Linked DNA regions of Homo sapiens: region 2 is linked to region 1. The links are contacts of gene promoters, found by promoter capture Hi-C in human tissues and cell types (Jung and others, 2019). All regions are on one chromosome and are shown on one strand. Each heading gives the region's core, a stretch centred on a gene start or on the middle of the fragment in contact. The rest is flanking DNA. Distances are from core to core; before and after follow the strand shown.

Region 1 (4,947 bases), core at 1,272-3,771:
TTCATCTTACTCCTAAACCTGAGTTCTCAGGCACCACAAAGTGTGCCCAAGAGGTAAGACAAGCCACTGTTTCCTAGGTTTGTCCCTTTTCCCGTTTGTATCTCTGTTTGCCCTTCTCCTTTGCATCACTTCTTCCCGCCGTTTTCTGATTTCTTCTTTTACTAAGCATAATAATAACCAAAGCTGCCCTTCAAGAACGTCAATTTCAAATGTATCGTGGCAGAGTCCAGGAAACAATATTGTGTAACACACTACCCTAAAACCTAAAGGCTTAAAACCACATGTATTTTATTGGCTCACAATTCTGTGGTTTGGCAATTTGGGTTGGATTCAGCTGGGCAGTTCTTCCATCAGTCTCTCCAGGTCTTATGTATGCTTCACAGGGGCTGGGTGGTCTAGTACAGCTCACTCACATGTCTGGAGGTGGCACCTTGTTGGCCAGGGTGCCTCAGTTCTCTTCCACACGGCCTCCTCGTGAGGCTAGCTTGGGCTTAAGGGGGGAAAATGAAAGCAGCATGGCCTCTTGAGGCCTAGGCTTGGAATTTGTACAATGTCACTTGTGACACATCCCATTGGTCAAAGCAAGTTACAAGATCCCATCCACATTCAAGGGGTGAATAAATTCCACCTCTTCTTGGGAAAAGTGTCAAAGAATTGATGGCCATTTTTAGTCTACTATGCTAAGTGCAGCCCCTTCCCCCAAAGTTATCCTTAATGCAGTCCCTTTGTGCCTCCACTCTCCTCTTTTAATTCCCATGCTTTTCTTATCCTTTTAATAATAAGCTCTCACTTCACATCACCCAAAGCTTCGTTCATTCACTTGACAAATACTTACTGTGTGCCAGGACCTATTAGTGAACAAAACAAAGCCCGTGCTCTAATGAATCTAAGATTCTAGTGGAGAGAGCGGACAATCAAGAAATAAACAAGAACACAGTGTTGGGCTATGGTGAACAATAGGTGCTTTGGAGAACAACAGAGCAGACTAAGTGCGGACTGTGTGTGAGGATAGCAGGGCAGTGGGTGGTTCCTATTATATGAAGTGGTCGGCTGTATCAATGAGGTGATATATAAGCAGGGTATTGAACGAAGTGAGGAGCAAGAAGTTCCAGGCAGAGCAAATAGCACGCGCAAAGGCCTGAGGCTGGCATGGAGAGGCAATTCCTTACAATTTCATATGTAGTAAAAAGTAACAAAACCCAGAAAAACACCAACCTTAATACATCTCATTAAAGAACAATACAACCCAAACATTTAAATATGGTAAAATCTTGATAAGCAAAAGCTTTTTATTTTACTTCATTTTTACTTTTATAAAAGCTCCTAATGCAATGACGTGTGTCACCTCTCTGGGCTTCAGGGTGTTCACCTTTCAAAAGGCCTCGGTGCCTGTCTGTCCTGCTTCCTGGCTTGTGGTTAGCATCAAAATGACACCATAAAAATGAAAGTTGCAGCCTTGAGGGTTCTTCTGGTTTCATTTCCGACCACAAGGTTGCCAGAGTGACTTTTTTTTTTTTTTAAATAACACAAATCAGTTATCACTTCCTGCTTAAAGCCCTCCAAAGGTTCCCTGTTGCCTAAAGAATAAACTCCAGGCACCTAAGCAAGCCCCACGCAGCCGTCTGCATTTTTCAATCCCTCCAACCTCGCCTTTTGCTATTTCCCCCACCCCACCTACGGCACGTTCCGGTCATAACCAACTAGCTCCTCGCTGAAACTGGCTCACACCGCGGAAGCCCGGGTCGGTGTCGGGGCGAGCCTTCCCTCCTTTTCCTGGAGCCCGTCTCAGGTCTGTAGCCCTCGGGAGGGATTGCAGGGCTCGTTCCCTGCTGGCGTTCATTTAGGTAACCTGTCTACCTCCAGTGGACTTCTAAGTCCCTTTCATGATTTTTCATCTTCCAAAATCAAATAATGGCCCAGCCCAACTTAGCTATAATGCCATGAAAAGAATCTCTGAGCCTCAGTTTCCTTGTCTGCAAAAAGGGCCCAGGAACCGCTCGTTAGGGTCGGTGTGGTGCCTGGAGAGTGCACTGCAAGGCCCGGGGCCCGCAGCGGGTGCCCGACAGCGGGCGTCCAACTCTGGGGGCGGGGCCGCAGGGCCGCTCAGGAGGGAGGTTCTCCAGAGGGGACCCCTTCGGGATTTGGGGGCAGGGAAGGAGATGGGGAGGACTTTCCCGAAGTCCGTCTAATCCCGCTGGCGGAGAGCGAGGCAGGTGGGACCCCAGGATGTCCGCTCGGCGGGGCGACCCCGGCCACCCCCGAGACCAGGGCTTTCCTCGTCCGGCCGCCACGCCCGCGCGCAGCCTCGGGCCACCCCGAAACCCCGGCGCGGTCACTACAGGACAAATTACGCGAGCAGAGCCTAGCGGCGCGCTGGGCATGCGCGGGGGCGGCGCGCATGCCCAGTCCCCCCGAGAGGCGGGAACTCCGGACTGAGACCGGGTCGGGCGTGCGCTGCCGAGAGAGGACGCGCGCCTCAGCCGGCTGCCGCGCACGCGCGCGGGCCCGCGCCGACGCAGCACGGCCTCGAGGGCGCGAGCCCGCGCCGCCGCCGCCGCCGCCGGTCCCGGACCACTGTGAGCCCGCGGCGTGAGGCGTGGGAGGAAGCGCGGCTGCTGTCGCCCAGCGCCGCCCCGTCGTCGTCTGCCTTCGCTTCACGGCGCCGAGCCGCGGTCCGAGTGAGTGCGGGGCGCCGGGCGCGGGGCGCGGGTCGGGGGCTGGGCGGGCTCCTTCTGTGCAGCGGTCGTGGGCTGGGCCGCGGCCCTGAGGGCGGAGGGGCAGAGCGGGGCCGCCCAACCAGTCCCGGGGCGGATGCGGCGGAGACCGGCCCCTCCCGCGCCCCCGGCCCGGGTTCTGGGAGGAGGGGAGGCCGGTGGCCGTGAGGAGGTTGGGGGCCCTCGCGGAGGCCGAGAGGCTTAAGGAGGTCAGGGGGCGCGCTGGGAGGCGGGGGTTCGGGGCGCTGGGTGGTCGGGAGGCTTGGGGAAGACTGGGAGGCTGAGGGACGTGGGGAGGCCGGGAGCTCGAGGAGGTCGGGGGTTTTGGGGGCGCGCGGGGAGGCCAAGGGGTTCGGGGAAGACAGAAAGGCTGGGGGACGTGGGGAGTCCGGGAGACGTGAGGAGGAAGGGGGGGGCGGCTTTCGAAAAGGCCGGGCGCGCGGAGAGGCCGAGGGGCCTGAGGAAGACGAGGAGGCCGGGGCTCTGGGGGCGCGCAGGGCGGACAGAGGCGCGGGGAGGACGGGCCGGCCTCCGCCGGAGCGGACCCAATGCCTGAAAAACAAAAGGGGAGAGGCAGGAGGAGGAAGAGGGAAATCGCAGGGACGTCGGCAGGGTTCGCCCGGACGCGAGAGGGAGGCTCGCGACGGCCCGACCTCCGTCCCCCGGGCGCGGCCTCGCGGGCAGCCAAGGGTGGGCTCCGAGCGGCCTGCCGGTGCCCGAGCCCCAAGCCCGCCGTGTCCCCGAACGCAAACCCTCAAGTTTGGTAGAGCCCCGTGGGCTTCTTGGCGGGAGCCCTGGAGCCCTCACTGAAGTCCTCACTGGAGTCATTGTGCTTCCCAAGTTTTCTCCTCTTCCCCGCCCCCAGCCCCCGACTCTGCCGCGGTGGCTTAGGCGCAACTGTTTGCCGAATTTCTCTCTGGGTTCCTTGTGTAGCGGCATCCTGTTCTTTCTTAGAAGAAGGGGTGTGTGTGTGTGTGTGTGTGTGTGTGTGTGTGTGTGTGAATTGGTTTCATTTAATTGCAGAATTTTGTAGCTAAATTCAGTGAGGGTAAAGTTTCTTTTTTTTTTTTTTTCCGAGTCATTTCAACAGTGTCTCATTCTTGCATAGTTAGCCTGCAGCTGGGTTTTTGGCAATGAGACTAAGATAATAGTAATATTGTAGTAATTATGGGAACTGGTTATACATTCAAGCTGAAAGCTGAAGGCAGTGCAAGAGTTTGGGGATTTGTATTTAAGACTTAACCATCGCTAGGATTTTTACTTAGAATGTAAACGTTTTCATGGCTGGAAAAACAGACCAGTACTATTTGAAATGAAATACCAGAGCCTCAACCTTAATATTTTATTTGGGAAACGGGTAATGAAAATGATGTCTTCGAGAGTTGAGCACTCCGTCCCATATTTGAAAACTTATGAGCAGTGCGATGCAAGCACACGGATGAACTAGTTACAAGACACATAAAAGTAAACTAGCATTCAACGTATTTTTGTTGGGGTACAGTATAGATAATATTTTCATCCAGTTATACTAGCCAATTAATTAGAAAAGCCCTATGATATTCAAACAAGGAACATTTTAAGGATGTTTGTGTCCCAATATCTTTGTGTTTTGTATTTGTGGTTATCCTTGGTGGGGAAAAACAGGCTGAACCTACCATCATTTTGAACCTTCTTGTTTATTAAACTGCAGAAACAACAAGATCAATATTACAAGGTTTTCCTTTAAAGAATTTCAGGTCACTATCAAATAATCTAGTTTAATAATGAACACAGGCACAGATTATTTAAAACACATGCTTCCTTTATAAGGGAGCCGACAATCACCTAAGACTTCAGTGTAGACGCTGATTAGAAGGACCCATACATCATTCAGTGGTGATGCATCAAGAAGCAAGTCATTGGTTAAATAAAGACATGGAAATCAAAACTCCATGTTTACGGTTTGGGGCAAAGAATACTGGGGCAAACTCTGAGAGGAGATGGGACTTAAAAAGCCTTATTATTTGAGGCTGGAAGCCCATTGAAAGTGAATAATGTTAGATTAGGAGTGAAGTTCCATGAATCCAGCAGTGAAATTGTGAGGAGGCAGTGAGGATCATTAAAACGTTTTATACTAAAATGTTTTCTGAAAAGCACCATGCTTCTTGATGGAAATTACATAACTTACTCCCTCAGTCCTCAAAATCATGTTCTCCAGCTAGTCAGATAACTGTTCTTTCTAGGGAGTTGGAGA
Region 2 (4,947 bases), core at 1,079-3,578, 420 kb after region 1:
TTTGGAACCATCCGTGTCAAATGTGACAAGTGCGTATGTGGCCCATCCGTGTCTTGTGGCCTCTTGTACATGTGGTCCACACCTTGGTGCATTATTCACCTGTCGGGGCCAGGGGCTCACAGCCCAGGGTGGGCATCCAGTGCCCTTCTTGTCATCCCCATCTTCCTCGTGCATGGGGGTTGTGTCTGCACACTTCTGCTCTGTCTCCTCTTGCACGCTTTGGCTTTGATCCTCCAGCTTGTATCTGCAGCTTACACGTGGGACTCCCTGTGAGTGATCAGAGTGGATTTCAGGCACCCCAAGGTCTAAGGCCTGCAGAGGCGTCCTTGGCAGTGGAGTTGCCTTCCTGAAGGTACGGGAAGGTGGACCTTCCCTGGCCCCTCTGCCTGGAAAACTTTTACATCTTTAACTTGTAATTTTATATTCCACGTGCCTTCACGTGAAGTATCAGTATTTTCATTATTGAAAGCTAGAAGCAAGAAAGAACTATCTTAGGAAATTGCATGTTTTATGAATTACCGCTGTGTTTTCCCATTGCCTTTATTCACAGGGGTTAGTACCAGGCTGCGTGCAGGTTTCCCGCCTCCCATGCCAGGTGTTGCAGAGGAGGTAGTCTCGGGGAAGGCTTCTTAGGAGAAATAGGGTCAGCCTGAGCCCTGGGCTCGAGCTGCGTCTGTGCCTGGACTCTGCTTGGGGGCCCGGTGGAGGGGCCTGGTTTGGAGCCGGCCCAGCAGCTTTGCTTCACCTGCAAGTAGCTCGTGTTCCAGCCCAAAACCTTCTTGCAGCCAGCGGTGTGCCCCTTTGTGGTATGGTTGTGAGGCTCGGTTAAGTAACTGCATGAGCACCTTGTAAGCTGGGAGTCACCGAAGGACAGTGACTCTCCTCCCCGAGAGGAGCGTGCCCGACCCTGAAATCGAGATTGGCCACAGGGCCAGATTCCCGGGCTCTGTCCTAGACGTTTCCTGGGAGCCGTCTCACTGGGTGGTTGGAGCCACCTGAGAACAGGGCCACGTGTTGGCAAGTGCTTTGTTCTACTCCGGTGTGGCGTAGAGAGAAGCTCAGTCGGTCCTCAGGGGAGTGGCTGTCTCCACTGAACCCACCTGGACTGTGATGTCCACTCCCTGTCACGGTCAGGGTCCTTGCTGGGAAGGATCTTGGTGAGCTGCTGAGCTTATGAAAAGTCATCAGACGTCATCCTGTGGATGACTGACACCTGGAAACTGTCCCTGGTGGCAGCATGGGTGCTGCTTGAGGACTCAGTTTGTTTGTTTGTTTTGTTTATTTATTTAGAGATGGAGTCTCGCTCTGTCACCCAGGCTGGAGTGCAGTGGCATGATCTCGGCTCACTGCAACCTCCGCGTTCAAGCGGTTCTCCTGCCTCAGCCTCCTGAGTAGCTGGGACTACAGGCACGTGCCACCACATCCAGATAATTTTTGTATTTTTAGTAGAGATAGGGTTTCACCATGTTGGCCAGGCTGGTCTCAAACTCCTGACCTCAGGTAATCTACCCGCCTCAGCCTCCCAAAGTGCTGGGATTATAGGTGTGAGCCACTGCACCCAGCCTGACTTTATTTTTGTAGCCTTGGCCCAGGGCATGGTGCCCAGCCCACAGGGGCACCCGCTGAGTGCCATTGAAGGGTGGAGTGTCATGGAAGTCTGTAGATGTGTCATCTATGAAGTCATGGCGACTTGGTGGAAGGCCATGCTGCCATAACCATTTCCAAATGGTGTAACTCAGTGAGTTTAATAACCTTGAAAGCATGTTAGTTTTCTCATAGGAAACAAACAAACAAAAAAGCAAATAATTCAAGGAGTCTCTGAGTTTTTCTAGGTCAGAAATACAGTAAGAACAGCTCATATTATTTTTAGTAGAGTTCTTTTTCTTTCCAGTGAATGTCAATAGGGATTGAAGTACATGTGATTTTTTTTAAATGGAGAAGGGTTGTCTTTTTTTTAAACAGACATTTGAGTGAAAATTGAAAGCGTTCTATTATTGAAAAATGTTTATTTTTCTAAATCTACATTTTGAACTTTACTAATATGGAGCCACTGAAAACTTGAGTTGGGATGAAGTTTCTGCCGCTTATGCATAGTAAAAAGCGCTTCCTGAGTAAACGAGCGGTTTAAGCAGCAGCAAGGGAGGGGCACCGCCTTGACACTTTTGGGCTCTTTGCCTTGTCTCCCGTGCTAGTAATTCATGCTGCCTCATCTCTCCAGTGTCTGAGACAGGAAGAAAGAACAGGAATGGACATAGCAAGTTTGATCACCAATGAGTTGTTATGATACATTTTAAGTACATTATTGGCTTGACGTTGAGACGCCTCCTCTGTGGAATGCAATATTGGCCTGGACGTGAATGGAAACAGCAGAGGGGGGCATATAGTGGCTTGGGGCCGCGGGATGGGAAGGGCCGCAGAGCAAGCCTGCTCCCCCGTTAATGGGTGTTCTCTCTGCCATTCCAGCACTTGCACCTCCTGCGCCGCCGCCCCCCATCCAAGGATATGCCTTCAAGCCTCCACCTAGACCCGACTTTGGGACCTCCGGGAGAACAATCAAATTACAGGCCAATTTCTTCGAAATGGACATCCCCAAAATTGACATCTATCATTATGAATTGGATATCAAGCCAGAGAAGTGCCCGAGGAGAGTTAACAGGTATTACGTTTCATCCTTCATGACCTGTGTAAGTGGTCTGCGCGGACAGACACGGCATTTAAACTAATCAACTCTGAAATTCTCAGCAGATCCATCTGGGTTTTTTCCAGAACGTTTCAGCTGCATTTGCTTTTCAAAAACAGTTTTTCAGAGTCAAACCTACGGATTGAAAAAAATATATATATAAATATATACCAAGTTTTTGTATTGAGACACAGTTTCAGGATAGTGAAATACATACATCGTAAATGCACAACTGGAAGAATTTCGACAAATGTATATACTGATCACCCTAGAAAGTTGCCTCATACCCTCTTCCGGTTACCCCCAGCCCCTAAAGTCACGGCATTCTGATGTGTGTCACATAGATTAGTTTCCAGGTCTGTATAGTGACACACCCTCAATCCCGACTGCTTTTACTCAGCAGAATTTATGAGACCCACCTGCGCCGTTGTGTGTATTTGTAGCTTATTTTTATTGCTAAATACTCTATTGCCTATTTCGTAGTCTGTTTTTCATCTTCCTTTTAAACACATGGGCAGTCTAGGCTGTGGCCATTATGAATAAGACTGCTGTGAACGTTCTTGTTGAAGTTCTTTTTGTGGAGGTGTTTTCGTCTCTCTTAAATAAATACCTAGGAGTAGAATTGCTGGGCCGAAGGGCAGCTGTGTGTTTAGCTGCATGTGAACCTGCCAAATAAATGGTGTTCCCATGCTCCCATCACGTTTTCCTCCCGTCAGCTCCGCTGAGTGTTTCCAAGGCCACCCACCCCCACCAGCACGCGGTGTGGTCAGGCGTGTTTTTTTGTGTGTTTCGGTGGGTGAGTAGTGGTTTCTCATTGTGGTTAATTTTCATTTCTCTGGTACCTGATGAGCTGAGCATCTTTCCATGTGTTTATATATTATTTTCATCGATTAAGTGATATATTATTTCCAGCAAAGTGTTGAAGTATTTTGCCTGTTTTGTTTTTTTTTTTTTTTTTACTGAGTTTCTTGTCTTTTTGTTATTGATCCGTGAGAGTTTTTAGTATATTCTAGATGTACATTGCATTTGTAAGCATCCTCCGGAGCGACAGAACCAATAGGATAGAGATACAGTCATGTACCGCATGACAACGTTTGGCCAGTGACAGACACATATACCACCGTGGTCCCAAAAGATTGTAAGGGAGCTGAAATCATAGCCCACGTAACGTAGTAGAGCAATGCGCTACCCTTTCTGAGTTTAGATTTTTTTATTTTTTCTTTTGAGATGGAGTCTTGCTCTGTCACCCTGGAGTCCAGTGGCATGAACTCAGTTCACTGTAGTCTCCACCTCCTGGGTTCAAGTGATTCTCCTGCCTCATCCTCCCAAGTAGCTGGGATTACAGGCACCTGCCACCACACCTGGCTAATTTTTTGTATTTTTAGTAGAGACAGGATTTCACCATATTGGCCAGGCTACTCTTGAACTCCTGACCTCAAGTGATCTGCCTGCTTCAGCCTCTCAGAGTGCTGGGATTACAGGCATGAGCCACTGGGCCCGACCTAGGTATATGTAGATGTACACATCCTTACCATGGTGTTACAATTGCCTGCCGTGTTCAGCAGTCGTGTGCTGTACAGGTTTGTGGCCTAGGTGTGTGGTAGACTCTACCTCCTGGGTATATGTAAATATACTCTATGATGTTCACACTGCAATGAAATTGCCTGAGTGAATTTCTCAGGCCATATCCCCATGGTTAAGCCACGCATGACTGTACATATATCTATAGATATGAGAGGGGATTTATTAGGGGAATTGGCTCACATGATTGTAGAGGCTAAGATGTCCCACAGCAGGCCATTTACAAGCTGGAGACCCTGGAGTGTCAGTAGCGGGGCTCAGGCCAAGTCTGAAAGCCTTATAATCAGGGAAGCCAAAGACCTGGAACCCACAGGGCTGCTGCTATAAGTCCTAGAGCCCAAAGGCCAAGGGAGCCTGAAGTTCTGATGTCCGAGGCAGGAGGAAGACAGTGCCCCAGCCCCAGGAGGGAGAGAAGAAATCACTCTTTCTCTCCTTTTTTTCTGTCTGTGTCCCCAGCTGATTGGATGGCACTACCCACACTGGGGGCAGATCCCCACCTGGTCCCTGACTAACACGCAGTCTCCTCTGGAAGCAGCCACACAGACATGCCCAGAAGTCAAGCTTTACCAGTTCTCTGGATTATTCTTTAATCTAGACACATTGGCACCTAAAAATCAGCATCATACAAGTCTATACTGGGAATATTTTCTCCTAGTCCAAAGTTTGTCATCTCACCTTCCTGTTGG

Evidence for each region. Contacts are between HindIII fragments. The study calls those that stand out against the background at their distance.
Region 2: a fragment that was not itself captured here is called in contact with the fragment with the promoter of PTK2 in region 1 in 1 of the 25 tissues and cell types used here (dorsolateral prefrontal cortex).

The regions. Positions count from the first base shown.
Region 1 is chr8:140,998,856-141,003,802 of GRCh38, reverse strand. It overlaps PTK2 (protein tyrosine kinase 2), which reads left to right and starts at 2,521. Exons shown (of 36, transcript NM_001352702.2): 1 at 2,521-2,678. RefSeq lists silencers at 2,087-2,506, 2,527-2,856. The HindIII fragment of the contact is 8,254 bases long and covers 1,047-4,947 here.
Region 2 is chr8:140,582,828-140,587,774 of GRCh38, reverse strand. It overlaps AGO2 (argonaute RISC catalytic component 2), which reads left to right. Exons shown (of 19, transcript NM_012154.5): 2 at 2,464-2,656. Among named protein-coding and RNA genes, the nearest start is that of ERICD, 49 kb to the left of the region's middle. The HindIII fragment of the contact is 7,107 bases long and covers 1-4,947 here.